Regions from separate parts of the Homo sapiens genome. Here regions 1, 2, 3, 4, 6 and 7 are each linked to region 5. The links are contacts of gene promoters, found by promoter capture Hi-C in blood cells and fetal thymus (Javierre and others, 2016). All regions are on one chromosome and are shown on one strand. Each heading gives the region's core, a stretch centred on a gene start or on the middle of the fragment in contact. The rest is flanking DNA. Distances are from core to core; before and after follow the strand shown. Region 1 has its middle 87 kb from the start of MIR4290HG. Region 2 has its middle 150 kb from the start of MIR4290HG. Region 3 has its middle 100 kb from the start of MIR4290HG. Region 4 has its middle 7.5 kb from the start of NFIL3. Region 5 holds the start of SYK (spleen associated tyrosine kinase). Region 6 has its middle 130 kb from the start of MIR4290HG. Region 7 has its middle 170 kb from the start of LINC03062.

The links. The method cuts DNA at HindIII sites, captures the fragments that hold promoters and counts their contacts. A CHiCAGO score of 5 or more calls a contact.
Region 1: a fragment that was not itself captured here is called in contact with the fragment with the promoter of SYK in region 5 in 1 of 17 cell types (total B cells); the score reaches 5.4 in total B cells.
Region 2: a contact is called between a fragment that was not itself captured here and the fragment with the promoter of SYK in region 5, in 1 of 17 cell types (naive B cells). The highest score is 5.3, in naive B cells.
Region 3: a contact is called between a fragment that was not itself captured here and the fragment with the promoter of SYK in region 5, in 5 of 17 cell types (total B cells, naive B cells, monocytes and 2 more). The highest score is 7.1, in total B cells.
Region 4: a contact is called between a fragment that was not itself captured here and the fragment with the promoter of SYK in region 5, in 1 of 17 cell types (neutrophils). The highest score is 6.0, in neutrophils.
Region 6: a fragment that was not itself captured here is called in contact with the fragment with the promoter of SYK in region 5 in 1 of 17 cell types (total B cells); the score reaches 6.2 in total B cells.
Region 7: a fragment that was not itself captured here is called in contact with the fragment with the promoter of SYK in region 5 in 1 of 17 cell types (fetal thymus); the score reaches 6.2 in fetal thymus.

The regions. Positions count from the first base shown.
Region 1 is chr9:90,126,845-90,130,782 of GRCh38, forward strand. No RefSeq gene overlaps it. Among named protein-coding and RNA genes, the nearest start is that of MIR4290HG, 87 kb to the left of the region's middle. The HindIII fragment of the contact is 373 bases long and covers 1,102-1,474 here.
Region 2 is chr9:90,191,080-90,195,308 of GRCh38, forward strand. No RefSeq gene overlaps it. Among named protein-coding and RNA genes, the nearest start is that of MIR4290HG, 150 kb to the left of the region's middle. The HindIII fragment of the contact is 2,596 bases long and covers 400-2,995 here.
Region 3 is chr9:90,143,983-90,148,168 of GRCh38, forward strand. No RefSeq gene overlaps it. Among named protein-coding and RNA genes, the nearest start is that of MIR4290HG, 100 kb to the left of the region's middle. The HindIII fragment of the contact is 2,101 bases long and covers 1,842-3,942 here.
Region 4 is chr9:91,429,411-91,433,348 of GRCh38, forward strand. It overlaps a transcript of NFIL3 not described here. Among named protein-coding and RNA genes, the nearest start is that of NFIL3, 7.5 kb to the left of the region's middle. The HindIII fragment of the contact is 3,988 bases long and covers 1-3,733 here.
Region 5 is chr9:90,798,909-90,803,102 of GRCh38, forward strand. SYK (spleen associated tyrosine kinase) reads left to right here and starts at 2,911. Exons shown (of 14, transcript NM_003177.7): 1 at 2,911-2,985. RefSeq lists silencers at 2,660-2,869, 2,890-3,049. The HindIII fragment of the contact is 2,717 bases long and covers 2,109-4,194 here.
Region 6 is chr9:90,168,075-90,172,002 of GRCh38, forward strand. No RefSeq gene overlaps it. Among named protein-coding and RNA genes, the nearest start is that of MIR4290HG, 130 kb to the left of the region's middle. The HindIII fragment of the contact is 650 bases long and covers 1,371-2,020 here.
Region 7 is chr9:89,809,439-89,813,440 of GRCh38, forward strand. No RefSeq gene overlaps it. Among named protein-coding and RNA genes, the nearest start is that of LINC03062, 170 kb to the left of the region's middle. The HindIII fragment of the contact is 1,627 bases long and covers 1,247-2,873 here.

The DNA of each region.
Region 1 (3,938 bases), core at 38-2,537, 670 kb before region 5:
AGATTGGAAGTGGTGATTTTAAGACTGAAATGATTTTATTGTCTTCTGGTATCTATTGCCACTAATGACAAATCTGCTAATTGCCAGTCCTTTGTGGGTCTTTTTTCTCTGGTAGTTTTAAAAACTTTTTTTTCTTTAATAGCCTTTTGCTTTACCCCAATATGACTAGGCTAATTTTTCTTTACCTTGTTATTCATTTCTTCCTCCAGTCTGAAAAATTCTCAGTGAGTTTTTCAAACATGAGTTTATATCTTCAACTGTTTTCTCTTTCTGTGCTGTGTAGGCAGATATTATTTAGTTTATCTTCTTATTTACTGAATATTCCCTCCCTTCCCTCCCTCCCTCCCTCCCTTCCTTTCTCTCTCTCTCTCTCTTTCTTTCTTTCTTTCTTTCTTTCTTTCTTTCTTTCTTTCTTTCTTTCTTTCTTTCCCTCAGATGGAGTCTCGCTCTGTTGCCCAGGCTGGAGTGCAGTGGTGCGATCTTGGCTCACTATAAGCTCCGCCTCCCAGATTCATGCCATTCTCCTGCATCAGCCTTCTGAGTACCTGGGACTACAGGCACCCACCACCATGCCCAGCTAATTATTTTGAATTTTTAGTAGAGATGGGGTTTCACCATGTTAGCCAGGATGGTCTCGATCTCCTGACCTCGTGATCCACCCACCTCGGCCTCCCAAAGTGCTGGGATTACAGGAGTGAGCCACCACACCTGGCCTGAATATTCTTTCTTTTAAAGAGAAAAATGATAGATAATGTTTATACTGTCTTTCAAGAGTTTTTTAAATTTCAATGACTATATTTGCCATTTCTAACATTTCTAATTGATTACTTTTTAGGTACACATGTTCCCTGTGCTTTCCTTCATAATATTTTTCAATGCAGCTATATCCCTCTTTTGTCTTTCAGAAGATATGAAAAAATTATATTACAGCTGTAATATACAGCTGTGTTGGGCTACTTTGCTAGTCTTGAGTGAATACTCTGCTGTATTTGCTGCCTGGTTAGTGTTGGTTTCTGCTGTGTGGTCAGAATTTTATTTTGCAAATGCATCTTGAAGAAGAAATTTTAGTTTTTTCTCTGTAATCACCCCAGATGTTTTAGAAGCTTCATTATTGCTCTCATCACCTTATCCCTATGGCTTCATAAAGGCCACAGTTCCTGTATGGACAGCCTGAGCTTCCTGTCCTGGAGTGACACTCAGTATATCTGAGATCAAGTTCTCGAGGTAGCAGTGGCTTGGCCAGGTCCTGGCACTATGCATGTGTCTGCTGAGCAGCCTGTGCCCTCCGCTCCCCGGGTATGGCCTGTGTCACCAGCGCTAGCTTCAGCAGCCTTATGCAGTACACCTAGTTCTCATCCTCCACACAAACAGCGTGCTTTCAGTGTGGTTGTCTCTCAGGAGTGTAAGAGATCACACCTCTGTCTCTTTCCACTTCTGAAGGCTATGAGGCTGCAGCTTGCTGTCTCAGGCCTCAAGCTTCCCTCTATGTTTCTGACCCATTTCTGATCCATGAAACTATGTGTGCCTGTTTTTACCTTATTTTTTGTGTTACCTATGATTTCTATGTGGGCGAAGGAGGTAGGATTAAATGCTTGATCTCACAGTGCCATTCTGAGAGGTTTTCAGCCTCTCTATTCTGAATGAGTTTAGCAGCCTCCCCACCCCCCAGCACACATGAAAGGAGGGGGCTCAGAGGGTCTCTTAGGTCCCCAGTGCCAAGGGTTTGGGTGTGATGAAGGACATGATTCCGGTCAGTGCCTCAATCACAAACAGGGCAGGGCAAGAGGGTGCACAAAGTTTGGTGTGACCTGTCCCCATAAATGGAGAAGCAACTCAAATCCCACATCCTGCCCCAAGGCATGAAGAGATAGGTGGGAAAGCAGCCCTTCTCCTCTCCTGGAGGAGGCTCCTCAGTGCCAGCGACAGGATGCTCTGTCCCTGGTATGGACTACTGTTCCCACTGCCCATGTACATAGTAAGCCGTGTGCTATAAAAAGCAACCCATATAAACAGTCACTGAATCGCCTGTTGAATTGGGAACATTCCTGCTGATTAACCTGAAAGCTTTTTCCAATTGAAGATTGGCATAGGGGTTGAAAATATAGAATGTATTCAGTTTTACATTGTTTAGAGTACTCTAAAAAAAATCCCTTTAAAAATGTCTTCAGGCGAGCGTTTTGGAGCACACAATAAACAGCAGATAAAAAGGACAGTATTTCCCAGGAAATCGAAGTTGACATATTTGTTTTCAGTTGCTATTTATGACATGTTGGGAATTGTTCCTCTTTATTTGTGGTTGTATAACAACCCACAATCTAGTTCTCTCACTCTGACCTAATTCCAGAGGTCTGCATGTCCTTCCCCAAGAAGGGCTGGGCTCCTCCTGTCTGACCACTACCTGGCCTTGATTAGTGTGACCTTCTTTTGTAGCTAGGCGCCAGCCATGTGGGGTTGACCCTTATTAGTGGCCATCTCAGGCCATAGAGGGCATGTATTTGTTCATTCCTCAGGACTGATTGTCTGGGAATATGAAGGTCTTTCAAAATTATGCTCCAGATGGAATAGAACCTGGACCAAGTTCTTTCTGCAGTGATAACTAGTAATGGAGTGGTAAACTGTGTGCAAATGGATGGAATCTAGCATCATGGAGGTCCTTATGCATGAACAGCTTGATAACACAGATTAGCAAACACAGAGACCACTCGTCTTATGGTCAGCAGTAAAGTGGACATTGTGCCGATGGAAGTGATCTTCTGGCTTCCATATCTGAAGGACAGATGGCTCGGCTCTGGAAACAGAAGAGCAGAGGGCATGTTTGCTGAGAGAAAACAGGCTGGCATTGCTGCGGAGTGGCCCATTCAATGCAAGGTAGATTCATGGAGAGGAGGGTATATGAGCTGGTGGCACTCTGGCACATCCAGATGATTAAACCAACAGGAAAGTTCTGGCTGGGTGCTCAGGAGTGAAATCCAGGGAAAGGCAGGGATTTGGCAGGATTCCATTAGAGAATATTCAGGAAATGAGGGAAAGAGGCTTTGGGGACCATGCAATAAGAAGACCAAAAGAGGCAGCAGGTCAAGAAAGGAGGCAGAAAGAATGGAGGAGAACCCACGAAACAGAGATCCATGGAGGCTGCGTGTGTGCCTAGTCACCAGAGGAGGAAAGGAGCAGGAGGGCTGGGGAAAGTTCTGCCCTTGTTGAGGTTTCTGTCCAATTCTGGAAGAAGAATTTCAATCAAACTGCAGAGCTGGAGGACAGATTGGGAGGAAGCTGAAATGAATGCAGATAACTACTTTAATATTTGGACAGGAAGGAGAAGCTATCAGGAGACAGGCATCAGGACGTGAAAAATGTTCACTTTAGAACTGCTTTCATGGCCTTTTAGAACAGTCCTGAGCATAATTTACACAGGAGACACCATGCACAACGGGGAAGGAGAAACCCAACATGAAGATAACATATGAAGGAGGAGAGGGAAGGGAGGCAGCCTGGCCTAACTGACACATTAGCACCCAGGATTGAGAGGTCAGAAATAAGTAGCATGAGCATGCATGCCAACCTTGGAAAAGCGAGGGGGGATGAAAAACAAATCAATGAGTGCAAAGTAGTTTTATTATTATTATTATTATTATACTTTAAGTTCTGGGGTACATGTGCAGAACGTGCAGGTTTGTTACATAGGTATACACGTGCCATGGTGGTTTGCTGCACCCATCAACCAGTCATCTACATTAGGTATTTCTCCTAATGCTATCCCTCCTCTAGCACCCCCAACCCCCGACAGGCCCTGGTGTGTGATGTTCCCCTCCCTGTTTCCATGTGTTCTCATTGTTCAACTCCCACTTATGCGTGAGAACATGTGGTATTTGGTTTTCTGTTCCTGTGTTACTTTGCTGAGAAGGATGGTTTCCAGCTTCATCCATGTCCCTACAAAGGAC
Region 2 (4,229 bases), core at 448-2,947, 610 kb before region 5:
TCTTCTTTCTGGGACTTCCATAATGCATCTATTGGTCTGCCTGATGGTGTCCCATAAGTGCCATAGGTTCCTTCACTTTTCTTTTTTCTTTTTATCCCTCTGACGCAGTACTTTCAAAGGACCTGTATTCAAGTTTTCTGTTTCTTTCCTTTGATCCTGCTTGATGTATATACCACATTTTGTTTATCCCTTCATTCATTGATGGACATTTGGATTGCTGAAACCTCTTGCTTAATGCAAAAATCTTTTTTCATACTCCACAGGTTGACATTTCACTTTATTGCTTCTTATGATGAGCGGAAGTTAAAGTTTTCTACAGTCCCACTTGTCTATTTTTACTTTTTTGCCTCTTCTTTTGGGGTTATATCAAAAAACTCACTGCCAAATCCAATGCCATGAAGCTTTCTCCCATTTTTTCATTTAGAAATTTTATACTTTTAGGTATTAATTTTAGTTCTGTAGTTAATTTTGTGTTTATTTTTGTAAATCTGTAAGGTAAACATCCAGCTTTATTCTTTTGCATGTGGATACCTAGTTTTCCCAACACAATTTGTTGAATAAACTGTTAATTTTCCTATGTGTGGTCTTGGTACTTTTGTCAAAGATTGTTAGATTGTTTAATCATATACATGAGGAGTTGTTTCTAGACTGTATTCTGTTCCATTGTTTATAGCTCTGTCTTTATGGCAATAGCATACTGTTTTCATTACTGTAGCTTTGTAATAAGTTTTAAAATCAGAAAGTGTGGGGCCTTCAGCTTTGTTCCTTTCAAGATTGTTTTGGCTATTTCAGAGTACCTTTAGATTGCTTGTGAATTTTAGCATTTTAAAAATTTCTTTTAAAATTCCATGAAATTTTGAGCCATTGTGGTCAGAAAACATACTTTTTAATATTTATCATCATTTAAAATTTGTTGTTTTTGCTTATCATGTGGTCAATTATGGAGAATATTTTATGTGCACTTGCAAAGAATGTCTGTTTTGCTATTACAGCGTGGAGTGTTCTGTGTATTTCTGTTAGATTCAACTGGTCTTGGAATTATTTAAGTCCTGTGTTTCCTTTTACATCTTCACTCTGGTTATTCTATGAATCCTTAAAAGCGTGGTACTGGGGGGTGGAGCCAAGATGGCCAAATAGGAACAGCTCCAGTCTACAGCTCCCAGCATGAGTGACGCAGAAGATGGGTGATTTCTGCATTTCCAACTGAAGTACTGGGTTCATCTCACTGGGGAGTGTCAGAAAGTGGGTGCAGGACAGTGGGTGCAGCCCACCGAGCGAGAGCTGAAGCAGGGCGAGGCATCCCCTCACCCGGAAAGCACAAGGGGTCAAGGAATTCCCTTTCCTAGTCAAAGAAAGGGGTGACAGATGGCACCTGGAAAATTGGGTCACTCCCACCCTAATACTGTGCTTTTCCAACGGTCTTAGCAAACGGCACACCAGGAGATTACATCCTGCACCTGACTCAGAGGGTCCTATGCCCACGGAGCCTCGCTCATTGCTAGCACAGCAGTCTGAGATCAAACTGCAAGGAGACAGCGAGGCTGGGGGAGGGGCACCCACAATTGCCAAGGCTTGAGTAGGTAAACAAAGCGGCCAGGAAGCTGGAAATGGGTGGAGCCCACCGCAGCTCAAGGAGGCCTGCCTGCCTTTGTAGACTCCACCTCTGGGGGCAGGGCATAGGCAAACAAAAGGCAGCAGAATCCTCTGCACACTTAATGTCCTTGTCTGACAGCTTTGAAGAGAGTAGTGGTTCTCCCAGCACACAGCTGGAGATCTGAGAATGGACAGACTGCCTCCTCAAGTGGGTCCTTGACCCCTGAGTAGCCTAACTGGGAGGCAGCCCCCAGTAGGGGCAGACTGACACCTCACATGGCCAGGTATTCCTCTGAGACAAAACTTCCAGAGGAATGATCAGGCAGCAACATTTGCTGCTCACTAATATCCACTGTCCTGCAGCCTCCGCTGCTGATACCCAGGCAAACAGGGTCTGGAGTGGACCTCCAGTAAACTCCAACAGACCTGCAGCTGAGGGTCCTGACTGTTAGAAGGAAAACTAACAAACAGAAAGGACATCCACACCAAAACCCCATCTGTACATCACCATCATCAAAGACCAAAGGTAGATAAAACCACAAAGATGGGGAAAAAACAGAGCAGAAAAAATAGAAACTCTAAAAATCAGAGCGCCTCTCCTCCTCCAAAGGAACACAGCTCCTCACCAGCAATGGAATAAAGCTGGACAGAGAATGACTTTGACTAGTTGAGAGAAGAAGGCTTCAGATGATCAAACTACTCTGAGTTAAAGGAGGAAGTTTGAACCCATGGCAAAGAAGTTAAAAACCTCGAAAAAAAATTAGACGAATGGCTAATTAGAATAATCAATTCAGAGAAGTCCTTAAAGGACCTAATGGAGCTGAAAACCAAGGCACGAGAACTATGTGATGAATGTACAAGCCTCAGTAGCCAATTCGATCAACTGGAAGAAAGGGTATCAGTGATGGAAGATCAAATGAATGACATGAAGGGAGAAGAGAAGTTTAGAGAAAAAAGAATAAAAAGAAATGAACAAAGACTCCAAGAAATATGGGACTATGTGAAAAGACCAAATCTACGTCTGATTGGTGTACCTAAAAGTGACGGGGAGAATGGAACCAAGTTGGAAAACACTCTGCAGGATATTATCCAGGAGAACTTCCCCAATCTAGCAAGGCAGGCCAACATTCAAATTCAGGAAATACAGAGAATGCCACAAAGATACTCCTCAAGAAGAGCAACTCCAAGACACATAATTGTCAGATTCACCAAAGTTGAAATGAAGGAAAAAATGTTAAGGGCAGCCAGAGAGAAAGGTTGGGTTACCCACAAAGGGAAGCCCATCAGACTAACAGCTGATCTCTCAGCAGAAACTCTACAAGCCAGAAGAGAGTGGGGGCCAATATTCAACATTCTTAAAGAAAAGAATTTTCAACCCAGAATTTCATATCCAGCCAAACTAAGCTTCATAAGTGAAGGAGAAATAAAATACTTTACAGACAAGCAAATGCTGAGAGATTTTGTCACCACCAGGTCTGCCCTAAAAGAGCTCCTGAAGGAAGCACTAAACATGGAAAGGAACAACCGGTACCAGCCACTGCACAACCACACCAAATTGTAAAAACCATTGAGGCTAGGAAGAAACTGCATGAACTAACGAGCAAAATAACCAGCTAACATCATAATGACAGGATCAAATTCACACATAACAATATTGGCCTTAAATGTAAATGGGCTAAATGCTCCAATTAAAAGGCACAGACTGGTAAATTGGATAAAGAGTCAAGACCCATCAGTGTGCTTTATTCAGGAAATCCATCTGACATGCAGAGACACACATAGGCTCAAAATAAAGGGATGGAAGAAGATCTACCAAGCAAATGGAAAACAAAAAAAGGCAGGGGTTGCAATCCTAGTCTCTGATAAAACGGACTTTAAACCAATGAAGATCAAAGAGACAAAGAAGGCCATTACATAATGGTAAAGGGATCAATTCAACAAGAAGAGCTACCTATCCTAAATATATATGCACCCAATACAGGAGCACCCAGATTCATAAAGCTAGTCCTTAGAGACCTACAAAGAGACTTAGACTCCCACACAATAATAATGGGAGACTTTAACACCCCACTGTCAACATTAGACAGATCAATGAGACAGAAAGTTAACAGGGATATCCAGGAATTGAACTCAGCTCTGCACCAAGCCGACCTAATAGACATCTACAGAACTCTCCACCCCAAATCAACAGAAGATACATTCTTCTCAGCACTACATCGCACTTATTCCAAAATTGACCATATAGTTGGAAGTAAAGCACTCCTCAGCAAATGTAAAAGAACAGAAATTATAACAAACTGTCTCTCAGACCACAGTGCAATCAAACTAGAACTCAGGATTAAGAAACTCACTCAAAACTGCTCAACTACATGGAAACTGAACAACCTGCTCCTGAATGACTACTGGGTACATAACGAAATGAAGGAAGAAATAAAGATGTTCTTTGAAACCAACAAGAACAAAGACACAACATACCAGAATCTCTGGGACACATTCAAAGCAGTGTGTAGAGGGAAATTTATAGCACTAAATGCCCACAAGAGAAAGCAGGAAAGATCTAAAATTGATACCGTAACATCACAATTAAAAGAACTAGAGAAGCAAGAGCAAACACATTCAAAAGCTAGCAGAAGACA
Region 3 (4,186 bases), core at 1,642-4,141, 650 kb before region 5:
TTCATTCCTTTGTGTCATTGTGTGATAGAGCACATTTTGTTTATCCTTTCACTTTTTGATGAACATTTAGATAGCTTCTAATGTTTTTAGTATTTACAAAAAGCTGTTGTAAGTATTTGTGTGAAAGTCTTTGTACAAACCCATTTTTTTTTTTTTGCCCTTGAGGGAAATGCTTTGGAGAGGGATCATATATTAAGTGCACATTCAATTTTTTTAAAAATAAATTTTATTGTGCATATTTAAGATATACATTACATTTTGGGGCACATATAGCCAGTAAAAAGGGTACTGTACTGAAGCAAAGTAACATGTCCATCATCTCACATAGTTACCCATTTTTTTGTGTGTGCATGGCAAGAACAACTAAAATCTACTCATTTAGCATGAATTCCATATATCGCACGATTTTATTACCTATAATTCTCATGTTCTCCCTTAGATCCCTAGACTTGTTCATCCTACATATCTGTTACTTTGTATCCTCTGACCTACATCTCCCCATTACCACTCCCCCGACCCCCATGTCTCCCTGCCCCCCACCCATTGCCCCTGGTAACCACTATTTTGTTCTCTGTCTCTGTATACTTGCATTTTTTTATATAGAAAGAAAAACATTACATCTCACTTACATGTAGAATCTTTTTAACAATGTGAAACATTTAACCTTTTCATAAATCAACAGAAAGTTTCTGATGGCAGTTATACTATTTCACATTTCTACCAGCAGGAGAGTTCCAGCTCCTTTACCTCTTCCAATATGTGGTGTGGTCCGTGCTTTTACTTTGAGCCATTGTATTAGGTGCATACTACCCTCTCATTGTGGTTTTAATTTGATTTTTCCTATGACTAATGATATTTCATTTGCTTGGTTGCAAAACATGCATCTTTTTTGGTGAAGTATCTGTTTAAATCTTCTGCCCATTAAAAAAATTAGGTTATTTATTTTTTAGTATCGAGTTTGAGAGTTTTTTTATATTTACTGAGTAAACTTCTTTACTGTATATATGTTTTGAAAATGTATTCTCTTAGTCTATGGCCTGTCATTTCATTCTCTTGACAGTATCTGTAAGAGTATCCTTTGAAGAACAGACAGTTTTAATTGTGGTGAAAACTAATTTATCAAGTTGTTCTTTTATGGATGTTATTTTTGGTGTCGTATTTAAGAAATCTTTGTCTAAGCCAAAGTCACAGGTTTTCTCCTATTTTTTTTTCTAAAATGTTCTATAGTTTTAGGTTTACAGTTTTGGTCTATTAACAATTTTGGTCTATTAACAATTTTGAGTTCTTTTTTTATGGAGCAAATTATAGGCCAATTTTTCTTTCCTGTGTATGAATATAAAATTATTCCAACATGATTTTCTGAAAAGAGTATTCATGTTTTTGCTGAAACCACACTGTCTTGGTTACTGCAGTTTTATAATAATTCTTTGAATTCTATATTGTGATTCCTCTGTCTTTATTCTTTTCTCAGGTTGTTTTGGATGGTCTAGGTTCTTTGTATTTCCAGACAATTGATTTTTGTATCTTGTATCCTGAATCTTGTTAAATCACTTATTACTTTTGTAGAATTGTATATTTCATTACCTTTTCTAACATAGATAATCATGCTTCTGTGAATGATGATAGTTTTATGTTTTTCTTTCCAATATAAATGCATTTTATTTATTTTTCTTATCTTACTACACTGGCTGAAACCTCAAGTATACCTCAAGTATAATGTTAAATAGAAGTTGTGAATGTGGACATGCCTGTCTTGCCATGATTTTGAAACTCAACCTAATAGCCCCATAGATAGTTTTTGTTTGTTTGTTTTATCATAGAAATTGACTCCCTGATCTTAAAGCTTGAAACTTTTGTTTTATCTGAGTCCCTTCCTTGGGAAATGGTCTTCTGGCCTCTCAAAAAAGGTGTCAAAGAACTGAAACTCCTATTGTTTTCTTCATATCTTGTTTTTGAAGTTTGTTTGCTTCTGTGGAATTTTAGTTTTTATCATATATATATAAGATTTTAAGGGATTTTTTAAACAATATTTTTGTCTCTTTCTGCACTTTATTCTGTCATTCGTGGGATCTGATTACATGTATACTAGGCTAGTTGACACTCCTATAGCTGATAGATGCTTTATACATTTTTTATTTTTTTCTTTCATTTTGTGTTTTATTTTGTATGATTCCTTCCTTCCTTCCTTCCTTCCTTCCTTCCTTCCTTCCTTTCTTTCTTTCTTTCTTCTTTCTTTTTTTGGAAATGGAGTTTCCCTGTTGTCACTCAGGCTGGAGTGCAGTGGCAGTGGCACGATCTCTGCTCACTGCAACCTCCACGTCCCAGGTTCTAGTGATTCTCCCACGTCAGCCTCTCACGTGCCACTGTGCCCATCTAAGTTTGTATTTTTAGTAGAGACGGGATTTCACCACGTTGACCAGGCTGGTCTTGAACTCCTGACCTCAGGTCAGCCACCCACCTTGGCCTCCCAAAGGGTTGGGATTACAGGCATGAGTCACCATGCCTGGACTGATTTCTGTTTTCATTTCTTCAAGTTCACCTGTCAATCTTCTGCAACATCTAATCCACATTAGCCTAATTCAGTACAATTTCATTACACAATGCTGCTTTCATCTGTAGAAGTTTGATTGGGTGGTTCTTGTGTCTTTCATGTTTGTAACATTTTGAATGTATACAATCCATTTATAATAAGTGTTTCAATGTCCTTGTCTACTAATTCTAATACCTGCATCAGTTTTGATTGGTTGATTTTTCTCTTCATTATCTGTCATGCTTATCTGCTTCTTTCTATTCTTATTTTTATTTTTATAGATAATTTTAAAAGACTTTAATTTTTTGAGAAGTTTTAAGTTTATAGAAAAATCAGTAGAATGTCTAGAAAGTTCCTAATCCCCCCCACACACTCAGTTTTCTCTATTATTTACATTTTGTATTAGGGTGGTACTTTTAAAAATAATTGATGGGTTAATATTGATATATTATTATTAAATAGTGTAAATAGATGACTTTAGGGTTTGCTCATTGTGTTGTGTGTTCTATACACTTTGACAAATGTGCAGTGACATGTGTGCATCGTTGCAGTATCAGATAGAACAGTTTCAGTGCCCTAAACATTCCCTGTGCTTCACTATTTATATCTCTCACAAGCCTCTGGCAAACGCTGAACTTTTTTTTTTTTTAACTGTCCTCATAGTTTTGCCTTTTCCAGAATGTCATATAGTTGGAATTATACAGTGTATTGTCTTTTTATGTGGGCTTTTGTTCACTTAGCATATGTTTTTAAGGTTTCTCCATATATATTTTTAAAATAGACTTTATTTTTAGAGCAGATTAGGTTCACAGCAAAATTGAGCAAAAGATACAGAGATTTCACATGTACCCCTCCCCACATATTTGTATCAATATCCCACTATCAATATCCTGCACCCTCACTATCACTATCAATATCCTGCACCAAGAGTGGAATATTTGTTACTATGGGTTAAACTACAGTGAGTGACACATCGTTATCACCTGAAATCCATAGTTTACATTCGAGTTCACTGTTGGTATTGTATATTTGAGTTTTGGCACATGTATAATTACATTTATTCACCATTAAGAGGCAGAGTAGTTCCACTGCCCTAAAAATCCCCTGTGCTCTGCTGATTCATCCCTCCTTCCCCACAACCCCAGCAAGCACTGATCTTTTTATAGTCTCTGTAGTTCTGCCTTTTCCAGAATGCCATACGGTTAAAATCATACAGCATGTAGCCTTTTCAGATTGGATTGTTTCATTTGTTAATATGTATTTAAGATTTTGCAGTGTATTTTTATTGCTTGATAGCTTATTTATTTTCAGTGCTGAATAATATTCCATTGTCTAGATATACCACAGGTTACTTATCTATTCATCTGCTGAAGGACATCTTGTTGTTTCCAAGTTTTGGTAATTCTGAGTAAAGCTTCCATAAACATTTGTGTGAAGGTTTTTGTGTCGATGTAAGTTTTCAGATCATTTGGTAAAATCTCGAGGAGCATGATTGTTGGATTTTATGGTAAGTGTGTATATAGTTTTGTAAGAAACTGCCAGACTATCTTTCAAAGTGGCTATACTGTCTTGCCTTCCCACCAGCAATGAGAATTCTTGTTGTTGCACATCCTCATTATCATTTTCTGTCACTGTTCTGGATTTTAGCTATTTTAA
Region 4 (3,938 bases), core at 490-2,989, 630 kb after region 5:
CAAATGTGGCATTTGCAGCAAAGCAGCTATGGCAAGCACTGGCTCATTCATAACCTTCCCTTGGCCTAATTGTAACATGGACAAGAGAAAATTACCTTGTTGAGTTGCCCACCAACTTTTGTCACTCCAGAGACAAAAGTTGTCTTCTGGAGTCGTTTGTTTCAGCAAGAGATTAAAGTGAATGCTCTCCGTTTGGTAAATGCACTTAAGAAGTCCGGAAATTGGGTGCTTGACCGCATTTCTGGTCTTCTGAGAAACTTTCAGAAGTGCTCAAGATTCAGGTGCCATTGTGTTTTCAGCTGCTGCTGTGTGATGCTGCTCTCAGGCGGTGCATGTAGGTCTGTGGAGGATTTTGTGAGTCCGCATACTGGCAGGATGATAAAAGAGCCAGCTCTCGGGCAGTCACCAGGAATTGCAGGCAGTAGAGCCCAGTGCTGAAGACCCAGATACAGAGGCCCGTGTCCACATCCCAGCTTGCCCACAGCCACTCAGGAACTCTGTGGCTGTGGGCAACTTACTTTTCTCGTCTGCTGTGTGCCTCACTTTCACCTTTTGACAACCATTTATAATTATAGTATCAATCTCAACTTGTTCTGAGGATAAAATTAGTACCTATTAACTGATTAGGAAAGTGCCTGATATATTAGCAAGTGTTAGCTATTATTATTAACCCAAAAAAGAATCAACATACATCAGAAAAATAGTATCATCAACCAAATACTTGTGCCTGTGCATGCGTATGTGTGTGCGTGTCCATATTAATTACATATACATAATAAATCTTGTTACGCTGCCAGGATCCTATTCAATTCAGATGAACAAGTGAGCATGTACATCTACAAGAAAGAATAACAGAGGTGGATGGGGATTAGAATTCATTCATTCTTCCATTTATGGAGCACCTGCTGGGTGCCAGGCATCCCTTGAACAGTTGAGTGATGTCCCATGCCTGCTGTAGACTTGGCGCTCATTCACTCACTCCCTCACTTAAGGTACATGTTTACTGACTACTTAGCAGGGGCCAGAAACTAAGCCAGGCCCTTAGAGGTTAATGGGAAGATGAGGATGGTGGGTTAAAAGCATAACTCGAATACTGTCGCGGTGTGGTAACTGTCACTGGAAAGACCAGACTGTGTACCAAGAGGGGCTTGAAGGAGAGGAGACCCACATTCCATTGAAGCAGAGGCAGAAGTACTTCCTGAAAGAGGGTATAATTTAATCAAAGTTTTTCTTTTTTATTAAAAAAAATGTTTGGTACAGGGTCTTGCTCTGTTGCCCAGGCTGGAGTGCAGTGGCATGATCATAGCTCACTGCAGCCTTGACCTCCTGAGCTCAAGCAATCCTCCTGCCTCAGCCTCCCAAGCAGCTAGCACTACAGGTGCATGCCAACACACCAGGCTAATTAAAAAACATTTTGTAGAGGCAGGATCTCACTATGTTGCTCAGGCTAGTCTCAAACTCCTGGCCTCAAGTGATCCTCCTACCTCAGCCTCCCAAGTGCTGGGATTATGACCAAAGTCTTAAAGATGTATGGGTATTCTACAGGCAGGAATCATGCCTCAAAAGAGTACCACATAAAGCCAGGCCTAGCAAAGCCAGTGTGGTTGGTGACCAAGGGAACCTTGGGGAGTGACAAGTCCTGGCAGAGAGCTTGATGGAAACCCAGGTTTTGCAAAGTCGGCATGGGAGAGCAGTGTGGAAATGTAGACCAGGCCCAGGCCTAGGGGACCTGGAGTAGCAAAACCAACCAGTACGTTATTCAGGCAGTACGTTATTCAAGCATTTAAAACACATTGTTTTAAATGCTTTTTTTCCCCCAAATGTCACACATTAAGAATTAGTGTAGGGAAATGGTTCAAAGCCTGGACTCTAGAGCTGGGTGGCCATGGGTAAGTCACGTGAAACCTTGATGCCTCAGTTTCTTCATCTGAGAAACAGCACAATAGTACTTTACATATGCTATATATGCTTCAGTTCCTCTACACAGTAAGAATAATAACAAATACTGCTCAAACACCACAGCATGCACACACCGTCTTGGGCGCATCACATATATTAAGATGTTTCATCCTTCTACCATTCCGTGGAGAGGGGAAAGGTGTCACGGGAACAGAGCCTGAGCTTAGGGATGCACTGGCACATGCTCTCCTGTGCTATTACAAAGGGTGTGTATTCATCCCACGAGAGAAAGCCAGCTGGAGACTAGAAGCAAGTGGAATTTGACTTGAACAGTTTAACCACAGTGGAAGCCGACGTGACTTTGGCCTTCAGGGAGTGTCTGTACTTGGGCTATGCTGCTCCAGAGTTCCTTTTGCTTCTGTTCCTGCTCCTGGCTGTCTGGGATGGTTCCCAGTGCAGGACTTGTGCTGCTCAATGACCCAGGCCACACAAGACTTTCCCCCTAATGCATAAGTAAAACACCACTTTCCTTTGTAAAAATGACCTCTCTGCAAGTCCCAGTGTGTCTCCTTCCTGGATCCCCTTTGCCTCACCTGTCCCAAGCCTCTCTTGCTTGCTACTGGACAGGCTTTGTCTTGGACGCCTTTCCCTCTTCTACCACCAGCAGCTAACTTGGGTCTTCCTGGGTTCCCAATGCTTTCCTGCTGCTGCAAGTAAGATGGACAGAACTTACAGATGGGCACCTCCCATCACTTAGGAACTCACACAAGCACAGAGGGCCAGGAACCTGTCTTTCCCAGGGGCTACCGGGGCAGGTGACACAACCCCATGATGTAGGGTAGTTGGCACACTGTCAGGTTAGTTCTGAGCCATGAGTGACAGGAGATGGGATGGAACCAGTAGATAAATACCTCCTCTCTACAATGTTTAGTGGCATGATGTCCCAAATCCCAGCCACAGTCTGTGCTGTCTTGGGGCACTGTAGTCAACCTGGTAGTGTACCTTGTCCTTATAAATGTACTTCCCCTATTTCTCTGTCTCCTCTTCTTTTCCTCCTACTCTTGCAGTTCTAGAATTGTACCTCCCAAGAAAGGCTTAGCACAGGAGATTTGATTCAGGCTCCGGTTTCTGGGAAACTCAGGCCCAGCCAATTTCTTTCGGAACCTGTCAAAGATTCAAAGTGCAGCAATAGTCCCAAAAATAGGTTTCCTGAAAACATGTCCCTCACGAAAAGTAGCAGAGAAAGATGACTCTCAGTCTTGCAGAGAAATTGTCCATTTTCTTATCTTTTGCAGTATTATGAAAACTGTTGCTGACACATAAGAACCTATATATTCCAGTGAAGTTGTTTAGGTTTTTTTTTGCCAGATCTTAATTCTGCTGTGCAAAGGCAGAGCTGAAAAGAAATGGGAGGTTGATTTGTAAAGCATTAGTGTGAGAAGGTCTTAGGGAGGTCTTTTCTAGTACTCTTTTGGAGTATGATATATATTGCTAAAGTAGCTGGAGAGTAGTCAGAAGTATAGCTATTTTGATGTGATAAAAGGAAAACATTTTGAACTGCAGACTAGGAAAGAAAACTTTCTTGTTACTGAAAAATATTTATCTTTACTACTGAATATCTGAAAAGCATTCTTTTTCAGTGTAAATTTAATCATTTAATGGTGAAACAATAAAGTCCTTCCTATTTAAGTAGGAAAATAAACAGGAAACTCATTATTATTTGACATCATTTTGAAGGTCTTAGCCATTGCAATGAGACAGGAAAAAAAAGAATTATCAGTATTACAAGGAAGTTATAATTCCATATGTTCATTTACTTATGTAGCAAAACTAAAGCTTATGCAAAAATAGAAGAATTCAGTAATGTAGCTGGACAAGATGTTAATATTTAAAAACAAAATTTTCCTGCATATGGGAATCATTTGTAATAGAATGGCTAAAAGCACACATTCTACATTTATTGCTGTGACTATCGGCAAATTGCTGAGACTCATTATGTTTCAGTTTCCTCCTCTGCACACTTGGGATTGTAGTCATGC
Region 5 (4,194 bases), core at 1,661-4,160:
CAGACTGGTACATTTGTTACAATTGATGAACCTACTTTGACACATCATAATCACCCAAAGCCTGAAGTTTACACTGATGTTCCCTCTTGGTGTTGTATATTGTATGGTGTTTAACAAATGTATAGTGCTGTGTATCCACCATTGTAATATCATACAGCATACTTTCACAGCCCTAAAAAATCTCTGTTCTCCTTCTATTCATCCTGCCCTCCCCACCAGCCCATGGCAGCCACTGATCTTTTTACTATCCAGATAGTTTGGCTCTTTCCAGAATATCACCTGTTGAAATTATACAGTATGTAGCCTTTTCAGAGGGCTTCTTTCACTTGGTAATATGCATTTAGATTTCATCCATTTCTTTTCATAACTTGCTAGTGCATTTCATTTTAGTGTGGAACAATATTCCATTACACTGATGTACAAGAGTTTATATATCCATTCACTTACTGAATGACATCTTGTTTGTGTCCAAGTTTTGGCAATAAACTTAGTAAATAAAGCCAGCGTAAACATTTGTGTGCAGATTTTTGTGTGAACATAAGGTTTGAACTCCTTTGGGTAAATACCAAGAAGCACAATTACTGGGTACTACTTTAGGTAAATACCAACTACTTTGGGTAAATACCAAGAAGGACAATCCTCTTATAATTACTCATGTTGTAAGAGGATGTTTAGTTTCATAAGAAACTGCCAAACTGTCTTCCACAGTGGCTGTACCATCTTGCATTCACAACAGCAATGAATGAGTATTTCTATTGCTTCACATCCTCACTAGTGTTCACTGCGGTCAGTGTTCCGAATTTGGGCCATACTGATATCTTACTGTCTTCATTTGCATTTCCCTGATGATACATAATGTGAACCATCTTTTAGGCTAGGCATGGTGGCTCACGCCTGTAATCCCAGCATTTTGGGAGGCCAAGGCAGGCAGATCACGAGGTCAGGAGATCGAGACCATCCTGGCGAACACGGTGAAACCCCGTCTCTACTAAAAATACAAAAAATTAGCCGGGCATGGTGGCGGGCGCCTATAGTCCCAGCTACTCGGGAGGCTGAGGCAGGAGAATGGCGTGAGCCCAGGAGGCAGAGCTTGCGGTGAGCTGAGATGATCGGGCCACTGTACTCCAGCCTGGGCAACAGAGTGAGGCTCCGTCTCAAAAAAAAAAAAAATTACTACATGATACTAAGTAATGCGGAAGGTGACTCAAAGGGGGAAAGGAACACAGCAGTGTAAAGGAAGGAGGTTGTAGATGGATCTAGAATTTCCCCCTCATTTCCATCAGGTGAAAGCCTGAGAAAACTGCAATCTTTGTGCAGGCTGGGTTTGCTTTGTACACACTGGTCCCCTAGTGTTCATCTCCAATAATGCTGACAACTCTGAAAACCATCTGTAGACATTCTGCAGGCTCCATCTCAGGAACAATGGCTATTTTTTCGGGTAGTTGAAGCAAAATTAAGTCCAATGATAAGCAAATATAACCATTATCAAAATCTTCCATTTATGTTTGTTAAAGCAACCTAAGTATGATCTGAGAAGGACTCTGTATTCTATATTTGAGTCCTTGTGGATGAACTGTAACCTAGCTTAATAGGCAGACAAGATTGAAAACCTAATTTAGGAGTATGTGCCTTTAACAATAGCTGAGTCTTGGCCAATCCCAGTGGCCATACTTCAACCATTCATACACTGCTGAGTGTTCAAACTGTGTTCAAAGAAGGCAAAAGCCAACCTGTAACCAATCCAGTTGTTTCTCTGCCTTACCTCCAATTTCTGTATGTCACTTCCCTTTTTTTGTCTATAAATATGTTCTGACCATGAGGCATCCCTGGAGTCTCTGAATCCGCTGTGATTCTGGAAGCTGCCCCATTCGCAAATCATTCATTACTCAATTAAACTGCTTTAAATTTAATTCTGCTGAAGTTTTCTTTTAACAGGTTTAGAAAAAATAATGGCAAAAATGAATGAAAATCCAATAACCCTGGAAGCAGAAAAGGCTGGGGGCTCCAATAAGTGTAAATAGTCCCATCCCTATATTTTCTCCATGGCAATTACAATCCAGCACATTATATATATATTTTTTTGCTTCTCGCATTTTGGCTTAGGGTAAAGCTTTTTAAAACAGGCACTGCCAACCAGTGTTATCAAGAAGGTCTGGATGCCGTTTTGTGGGAACATTTTAAAGAGGAATGTCCAAAAGGAAAAGGGGGATGGGTTGGGAGAAGGGTATCAGGCGGGTATCTCAAAACCATTCTTAGGGCTATAGGTTTAATTTATTTGGTTGTGGACGTCAGAGCCGTCATGGTAAGAAGGAAGCAAAGCCTTTTGTAATAATTAAAGCCTTCAGAAGCAGCGTGCCCCATTGCCCACTAGTGCGCCGTGAAGTCTGGTGTTCACCTACAGGGTCCCTCTCAGCACTGCCCAGGCCTCCCGAGTGCTCCAGCACAGTAGCTTGGAGCTTGTTGGTTTGGTGACCAAGATACACTCCAGGGAATATGCCATGCAGTGGAGTCTCTTCCCCGGCACTGCATAGCAAAAGGAAAGGGCCGCTGGGTGTCTGTGGGTCCTGGGCAGTCACAGAAGCCACCGCGCTGGCGGGGAGGAGGGGGACCGATGCGGTCCATGTCCCGGGCAGCCCCACCTTCTCTGCCTGCGAAGGGCCCTTGTCCGGCGGGAGGAGAGAGGCGCGCCCCACCCGGGCTCCTCTACACCTGCCGCCGCCTGGGCCGATTCCGCGGGCCTCGCCCGGCGCTTCAGCCGATTCCCGCCCAGCTCCGGGCTCATGGGCGCGGTCAGCAGGGCGGGCCAGGGCGGCGGGGCGCGACACTGGGAGGAAGTGCGGGCCGCCTGCCCGGGCGCGTTAAGGAAGTTGCCCAAAATGAGGAAGAGCCGCGGGCCCGGCGGCTGAGGCCACCCCGGCGGCGGCTGGAGAGCGAGGAGGAGCGGGTGGCCCCGCGCTGCGCCCGCCCTCGCCTCACCTGGCGCAGGTAGGTGTGGCCGCGTCCCCTACCCGGCCGGGACTTTCTGGTAAGGAGAGGAGGTTACGGGGAACGACGCGCTGCTTTCATGCCCTTTCTTGTTCTACCTTCATCGGCCGAGGTAAAAGTGCTGAAACCATGTGAATAAAATACAGGTGGGTTCCGCCAGCTTCGCTCCTGAACCTACCCGCGCTCGGGATCCAGAAGCTGCGCCGGGAGAGAGGGGCTCAGGCCTGGGCGGAGGGGACGGAGGTCAGACCGTGCGGAAAGTGACCCGGGCACCCCAGGGCGCCCAGGCCCCCAGGGAGCGCGGAAAGTGCGGTCGCGGCCCGGCCCTCGGGAGACGCGGGATTGGGATCAGGCACAGCGCGAGGAAGTCGATCTTGGAGCTAGAACATTTTCCTTTGGCCATTTACACGAATCCACTGGAAAATGCCGCAGTGTTTATCAAAGTTACTCAAAGTAGAAATGTCCAGACGTCTTATGAGCTTAGACAAATCTTTTACTACAAAAAGAAACAGCAGTTGCATTCAAACAACAACCCTTCTGAACCACTACTAAAATTTAGCATAATTACTCTTGTGGATACATTTTCATTGTCAAGTAATTTACTTAGCCAATGAACTTGGAGAGCAAGAAAGTTTTATGTAGTAAAATGTAAATTTGAGTTAAGAGTTAAGGGTGTTTCTTTTTGTCTGTTTGTCTGTTTTTGGCAATGTGGCTCCAAAACCTTAAGCCCACCTAAAAACTATATAAATGCAATCCATTCTTTTGTTGGAATGTTCAAGGACTAGAAAGACAATTGGAGAAGTGAGAGTTTGAATCTTTTTTTACGTTGGAAACAGTGTTGCAAAATATTTTTTGAGTTTTGCCTGACTTAGCAAAGATTCAGTCGAACTCAAGTAGAGTTCAAAGCATTGCAGCGTGTAGTAAAAAAAAAAAAGAGTTGAAGATGTTGTGCCATATCTGATTCTTGGTATTAAAAATAAAAAAAGGAACCATTTAATCCCTAAGAGTTCCTGGAAGAAATGGAATTGATTCTACCATCTGACTTCTTTGTCTTAGTAGGGACAAATTCATTGCCTTCACACAGGCAGCATTTTAATTAAATGCAACTAAATACATTGATGTCCTCCTTCTCCCCAGTGAAAGTCCGAGCAGTGCATAGATAGAATTATATTTTCTCAAAAAGGCTTAAATACATGTAAATTATTAAGT
Region 6 (3,928 bases), core at 446-2,945, 630 kb before region 5:
TTTGCAGCAGTCCTCTTGCACCCTAGCCAGAAACTGGAGTGTCAATTATACCACTCTGCTGTGCATTTCCTGGAGCTCGTTGTTTCCATGCTCTAGCTCCCACTTCTGAGCTTAAGGATCCCTTGAGTTTAGGCTGGGCAATATTAGAGAAAAAATGGGAAACTCTCCACCAGCTTTGTGGTACTTGGAATTTTGGTCTACTTTCTCAATCTGCCAGCTACCCTTTACTACTTATTTATTTTAGTTAAAAACACATTACATTCAATTTACCATCTTAACCATACATAATAAAGTGTATAGTTCAGCAGTATTAAGTATCTTTACATAAGTATGCAACAATCTCCAGAATTTTTCACCTGCAAATCTAAGGCTCTGTACCCATTCAACACCAACTCCCCATTCATCCCTCTCTCTATCCTCTGGAAATGACCATTCCACTTTCTGTCTCTAGAAATGTGACTATTTTAGATACTCCGTATAAGTAGAATCACATATTATTTGCCTTTATGTGATTGGTACATTTTCCTTAGTATAATGTCCTCCAGGTTCATTCATTTTGGAGAAAGTTAATAGGATTTTCTTCTTTTTAAATACCATTCCGTTGCATGCTTAATAACCACATTTGCAGTGCATTCATCCCTGGATGGACATTTGAGTTGCTTCCACCTCTTTGCTATTGTCAATATTGTATTCAGTGGGAGAGACAGACTGGAATGTGTTTGCCCCATTTTAATCAGGGGAAGAATAGTACTGAGATTTACTAGTTAAAATTTTTGTAAAAAAGAGTATAATTTCCCTTTATTAATGAAAACCATATAGCCCTTGGAATTGAAAATTTACACAGGCTTGTGAATAGATTATACAGATACTCAAGCCAGGCAAATATAACTTAGTTTAGTACCGTTTGTTTATATGTCTCCCTGGAAATATGTTCTTTTGACAATGATAAATATTAATAGACTGTTATAAAATGTATATATTTGGATGCTATATTGTGTTTAAATCCTTTCAATTTCAGGTAGGAATATGTTTTTGTGACCACATTAAGTGAATAAAGTTTCAGTTTGACTTAGTAATTAATAAAGTGCAACTTGTGATTGACAATCCTCTTCCCAGATAATAGACTTTTATGAGGTAAATCAACTCTAGAAAGAATGTGCTCTTCCCTAGTGTGACACTTAGAAACATTGTTAGTAATAAAACCCTCCACAATTCTTTCAGGTATAATTCACCAAGCCATGCAAATGTTGTAAAATCCAACTAGATTCGGGTAAACTTCCATTTTATTGAGTGGATTTATGATATTTAGGGATTGATTCATGGCATACGACTGATCACAATAATTGGTATCTCCTTCAGCAAGTTTATGAAGCTTTATCTTTTTTTCTTAGTAAAATGCATATATCCACTATAACTGTCATTAAAAAAAAAACTTGAAATTCATGAGGAAAAGCATCTTATTTTACCATGAAGGATTTATTTATTTTTCTAAGTGCTGCCCATTGCTCTTATGAATCGTGTACTGTGCTCTTCAACTTGCTTGTTTCTGTAAATTATTATACATCTACCAAGGTGTGTCTTCCAGAGAGTGAAGGTCATTGTTCTGGAGTAGGCCCTTGAAATAGCATCCACGTAAGTGAAAGTAAATAGCAGAGATAATGGAGTCAAAAGTTTAAATTAACCCTTTCTAGATTATCCAGGTCATTTGTTTTTCCTAGAGATAAAGTATAGAAACCAGGATGATTTATCCTACTATTCAAATGATTTAGTTTTAACTTTCATTGTAAGTTCTTGTTTTTATCAAAGTAATACATGAAAATGGCTTAAATTCTTAAACAGTGCCACAAATGTTGGAACAAGAAACAGTAATCTCTTGCCATACTACTGATTCTCTCTTTCTAGAGAAGGCAATTTTCAACCATTTTAGCTATTTACCTTTTTTTTTTTTTTACTTAGATAACATACCTTATTAGATATTCCTGGATTTTCCTCTCCCCATGGTATCTTTATTTCTGTTGGAAGCTTTTAAAACCATTAAAAATATTCAAATAGATGAATTTAAATATATTAATATTTTACTTAATGCTAGATAAGATGCTACTTATATAGAGAGTGAAATATGCATACTATAAAATTGGTCACTTTAACCATTTTCAAGTGGACAGCCTATTGTCATTAAGTACATTCACATGTTGTGCAGCCATCACCACCCTCCATCTCTAGGACATTTTCATCTTCTAAAACTGAAACCCTGTACCCATATTCCTTAATTTTTAAATTTTATTATGGCCTACTGATTTCTTACATGGAAGGTGAAAATCAGAAATAAACTCCTCTCACTGCTTAGGCAGGGACTAATACAAGGCAGTTACGGTGTTGGAGCAGAATGGAAGAAGGGGTCACTCGGTGCTCGCCCTGCCCCTGTGTGAACCTGAGAATGGGCCCCCTCAATTCTGGGCCCTGCTGGTCTCCCTGGCATCATCCTCTCTGGGTCCTCTATGCTGCACTCCACCTCCCTTCCCTCACAGATGCCATCCTTAACCCCATTCTGTCAGTATAACCACAGCATTTTTTTAAGTTAAATCAATATTTAGTGTTTACTTAGTTCCTGTAAAAATTGTCCTAATCTATGCAATCATATGTACATATTCTTTCACATTAACATTATATTTTTTGGGGTAATTGTATTATTTGATTATTCAGTTAATACTGGAGCTTGTTTACAAATATGGCCTCCAATGAACTACACCTTTCAGTTTTCTTGCCTTTGTGTAGTCTGCCTCTTGAATCAGAGCTAGATTTTGACCAAAGAGTGTAGTGGAGGTGACCTTCCGGGCCTTCTGAGGCTACATCACAAGGCACTTTGCAGGTGCCTTGAATACACTGGAGGAAGCTGCTGTGATGGATTATGACTACCTTGAGACTACCCTCCCACCCATAGCTGTAGTGGAAGGTAGCCTAAGTTACCATGTCCAGAGACTGTGTGCACAGAAAGAGATGCCTGGCAGCCATGCTGTGAGGAAGCCCAAGTCAGCATGTGGAGAGGTTGTGTGAACAGAAACGGAAGACTGGCCATTCTCTGGCTGTTCCAGGAAGCACCCAGGCACAGACATGTGAGTGAATCATTTGGTATCTTCAGCCATTGACCTTTCAGGTGACTCCAGCCTCAGCAATATCTGCCTATAATCACAGGAGAGGCCCTCAAGTGAGCCCTGCTGAGCCCTGTCAAGCCCTGTCAACCCACAGAAGCTTGAGAGGTAACAATAAGTTATGATTTTAAACCACTGAGCTTTGGGGTTTGTTACACAACTGTAGATAATAGAAACACTTAAGAGTCTATGAATCCCAATGTGTATATCGTTCCTAAACCCTTTGATTAAACTGAAAAGCTCCTTCAAATAAAGTCAAACATATTAATTAAGCTGTCAGATTACTTTTCCCCCTTGGAGACATTTCTTCAAAAGCCCCTGTTCCCTTCTCTGATGTCACAGGCCTACTGCACAGATTCAATCCTGGACATCCCAGTTTCATCCTGGGAATTCCCTTTTCCGCTCTCCTACATTGGATCCTGGTTCCCAAAACCCATGTCTTCATCTTTCTTTTTCCAAGGACACATTATCTTATTTTGCCTTGCTTAGGAGTAGAATTATTGTTAATTTGAAGATTTCTTTGGCTCCCTACAATATCTCTCTTCTGAGTTTTCTATGTTTTTTCTGTTTGTCTTCATTTCCATATTTTTTGTTAGAGGTTTTGTTAAAGGTTCTCCTCAAGTTCTGGTGACTCTTATTTGTTGGTTTTTATTTAAGTGTAAGGCAGTAAAACATCAATCCTTAACTCCATGGGCATGGGTGAGTTAGTCATTGCAGAACTTTTGTGCGTGGCAGTAATGAGACGGGTCAGATTTTTTAATCTGCAGGGATTTCTTTCC
Region 7 (4,002 bases), core at 810-3,309, 990 kb before region 5:
TTGGACAGCCGGCTCTGCTTGTCTGCCATTGTGGTAGACTGTATTTTCCAAAGATGATCATACCTATCTAAAGCCCATCCTCCACTGGGTGCGGGGTGCTGTGTTCCCTTTTTTTGGACCTAGGCAGGCCTTTGTCATTGTTTGAATCAATACAATATGGCAGAGGTGGTGGTGTGTGCCTTTTGTAACCAGATCATCAAAGTCATTAGTTTCTGCTTTGGTCTCTTGTCTCTCTCACTCTTAAGACACTTGCTCTTAAAACCCAGCTGCTATCTTCTGAGGAAGCCCAGGGCACAAGGAGAGGCCACATGTGGGCATTCCAGCCAAAAACTGACAACAAGCATGGGCCACCAGATCTACAAGGAAACATCCTTCAGATGGTTCCTGTCTCTGCTTTGAGTCCCCCAGTGGAGGGACCAGATACCATGGAGCAAAGACAGGCCATCCTGCCACTCCCTGTCCCAATTCCTGACCCATAGGAACTGTGAGAGGTGATAAAAGACTATTGTTTTAAGCTATGAGTGTTGGGGAATGTGTTATGCGGAGCAGATAATAGATTCACCTGTCATATCTAGTGGGTGCTGATTGCCCATGTGCCTGAGCATAACCCCATCTCATATGTTTGCAAAGAACAATGCATGAACCCAGTGCATGGCAGGAATTCAGGGAGCAAAATGAACTTGATGGTTACCCAAGCAGGCAGCAGGAGCTTGGTTCCTGGGTGTGGCTTTTGCGCCCCTGGTTTTAGCTCCAGGGATATTCGTCAAAAGTGTTTAAGGCAAGAGTCAGCCCTGCCTCTGTAGAAATAACAAAGAAAAAACAAATGGCAGGGATAGACAACCCTAGTGGGAAAACACAGATATATGAGTTCCATAGTCACTCAGAGAAATGAAGGGATGAACAAAAGCCCTCATCATTCAAGTGACTTTTCCTAAACTCTAAATAAATCTCGGCTAAACACCCAGGTGTAGGGGCAGTATCCATCACATTCTCAAGGCAGTTGTTTTTTAATTTTTTTTTCCGGGATTAAGATAGAAAATGCTTCAGCTTTCCAAGGCAAAGCGTTGCTGCCTGCATTCTCTGTGTGTCATGTGGCCTCAAGCACACCAGGGGTTTTCCTGGAGTGTGTCCTGGCAGTGAAGAGGCACGCAAGGCATCTGATATCCCAGCACCCACAACTGAACATTTTTATGACATTCGCCCAGCTGTACCTTTATAAAGATATTATGCAGGTTCCGAGAGATTAAGCTTTCCTTCCCAACCAGCTGCTGTGGAATGATGCCCGGCATATGGAGGACAGATAGAATTTCCCACCCTGACATGTGCCGAGAAATTTGACTTTAAAAAGTGTTAATCAGTAGCTCAAATCATCAGCCATGCATGAGGGCAGGACAGCAGGAGTCTGGAAGCTAAATCCACAAATGCATGGGGCCATCCCTGGGTGATCCAGAGAAGGAAGTTCATCCATTCAGTCACATTGAGCATCTCCTGCCAAATGAGGGGTTCCCTGCTTGCTGTAGCTGCAGACCTGAGTTTGAATCCTATGGAGACCTGTTGCTTTGTTAGAAAGTAACAGAGATGTCTGGATGCAGGAATCCGGAGCCTGGTGCTGCCCCGCACTTCATAGGTGTGGTCTTGAACACACTTTTGCTCCCTTCTGGCACTGGGCCTCATCAGAGGGGCTCAGTGAAGTTTGGAGATTGAGTTTGTTTTTCATCTGGATGGACTGCCACCTAAAACATTTCAAAGAGCCCTTGTTTGTCCATCTTCCAGGAAATTTGTCCTGGAGCCTGACCATTCCTTTTTTTGGGGAGGCACCTCTCAGCAGCAAAAGGTGAAGTTAGGGGTGGCAGCACAGGGGTTTGGCCTCAAGAAAGTGGCTGGTGCCCCTGGGATGGTGGCCAGCAGTGAGGAGGAGCTGAGCAGGGGAGGAACTTCAAGGTTGGTTTCAGGTCTGGGGGCTGGAAGTACAGACATGGGGATGGACAGTTCTAGGCTTCGAGGGAGCTGCAGCCCTGGCAGGGGAAGAGGGCTTCATGTGGGAGGGTAGTCAGGGGCCGTCACTGCAGAAGCTGGGTGGCCCTGTCACCAGGGTAATGGACCACAGATAGCAGATATGTCCAGGCAGCTGCAGAGAACATGCTGGATTGCCCCTTTCCAGAGTGCGGGCAAGGCTGGCCTGGCAACAGCCAGGGATCCCCTCCCCAGGTATGAGGTGTGGGCACAGAGCCACCTTCCTCTCCAGGTGCAGGGTGGGATAGGGGAATTGGGGCCAGGGAGGAGGGCTGGGAGCAAAGAGAGGGGGAGGTAGGGGAGGTGAGCTGGGGTGGGGAGGAGGAGGGGATGGGGGTGGAGAAGGTAGAATGAAGAAGAGATGGTGGGGTGGGGAGGAGGGCCGGGGATGGGGAACCTGTGGAGTCCCAGGTGGGGAGCCCTGGGCCAGGCTTGACAATCTCTGTCTCTTTCCAGCCATGAGGTGTGGCTACTTTTGCTTTTTGTCTCTAATGCTGAGAAGAAACACCCACAGAGAAAGTAGACATAAAACCCTTCAGATAACAGGGGGTAGAAATCAAACACACATCCTGTGACTCTGCTGTGCGGGAGGACGGTGCCCCCACCTCCAGGAGCCCAGCTGTAGGGGGGAATGGAGGCTGGGCTCAGCACCGCAGCCCCCATGCCCACCTGCACCCAGGCTCACTATGCAGACTGCTATGTGCGCTGCAGGAGCCAGACGGATGCTTTCTTGCAACAGGCTTGCTGCAGATGGTGTAACCCGTCTGAACGTTCATCTTGGTGGATGAGAGGCTTTCTCTGCACACAAAGCCTGAAAGAAGCCCCTCACTACCTCTCTCAACCATCTCCACTGGAGATGAAGCTTCTCAAGCCCGGGGAAGCCACGGAACCTTCCAGATACGGATGTCCCTTTTGTGGGGTACATTCTGCTCCACAACTGGACAGGAGGTTGAAGCCTCACTTGGCCTGGGGTGCTGACTTCCTCAGGGTCCAGGTGAAATGTAGGGAAGGGCCCTGAAAAGTTAGTGCTGAGAAAGAACTAGGGAGAAAATGTTTTGAACCTCAAGCCTTCCAAATCTTGTAAGAGGCTGGAATACATTTATGCAGAGTCACAGAGAAGTCTCCCAAGCCCAATCCAGGCCATCAGTGTTTTGTGTTCCATTAAGACTGGCACATTTGGAGAAGTGGCTGCTGAGCGTGTGGGTTACGGGGGTACAACTACCCTGGCATGTGGATGGCAGGTGGCCAGGTGGCTGGTGGAGCTGACCTCTGACCTCCAAGGTGTGGCTGAGCCCCACGAGCCAACACTGCCTTGAACCACAGCTACATCAGGTGGAAACACAGCTCAGAGCAGTACCTGGTCACACAAGCTCCAGGGCAGTCTTGAGGGAATGGTCTGGAAAGTTTGAATGCACGTGGCTGTGCCGGGGTAAGGTGACCATGGCGGTATGGCTGCAGCTCCTGGGAACTGCCTGGGGCCAGGAGCTTTGACAGGTGAAGCTGCTCCCTTAGCAGAGTGTATACCACCTGTAGATCCTGCTGCCACTCAGACGCCCAGTGAACCCCCCAGCCCTGCCCAGGGCATTGCATCTGGGGGCATCCCGTGACCTCTCACATACCTTGTATGATGGTTAATTTCGTGTTTCAACTTGGCTGGGCCACAGGGTACCCAGATATTTAGCCAAACATTATTCTGGGCATGTGCGTAGGGTGTTTCTGGATGACACTGGCATTTGAATTGGTGGACTTAGTAAAGCAGGGGGCCTCCCCAAGGACGAGACCTCATCCAGCTCACAGAGATCCTAAAGAGAGCAAAATGGCTGAGTAAGAGGGAATATCCACCTGACTGCATGATCTGAGACGTGGATCTTCCCCTGTCTTCGGACTCAAACTGAACATCAATTTCTTGAGTCTCAAGCTTGCCAGACTTCAGTCTGGAAGTTTGAAGGGATTTCCACCTTGAAAACAGCAGATCTGGGGAAGTGTCAG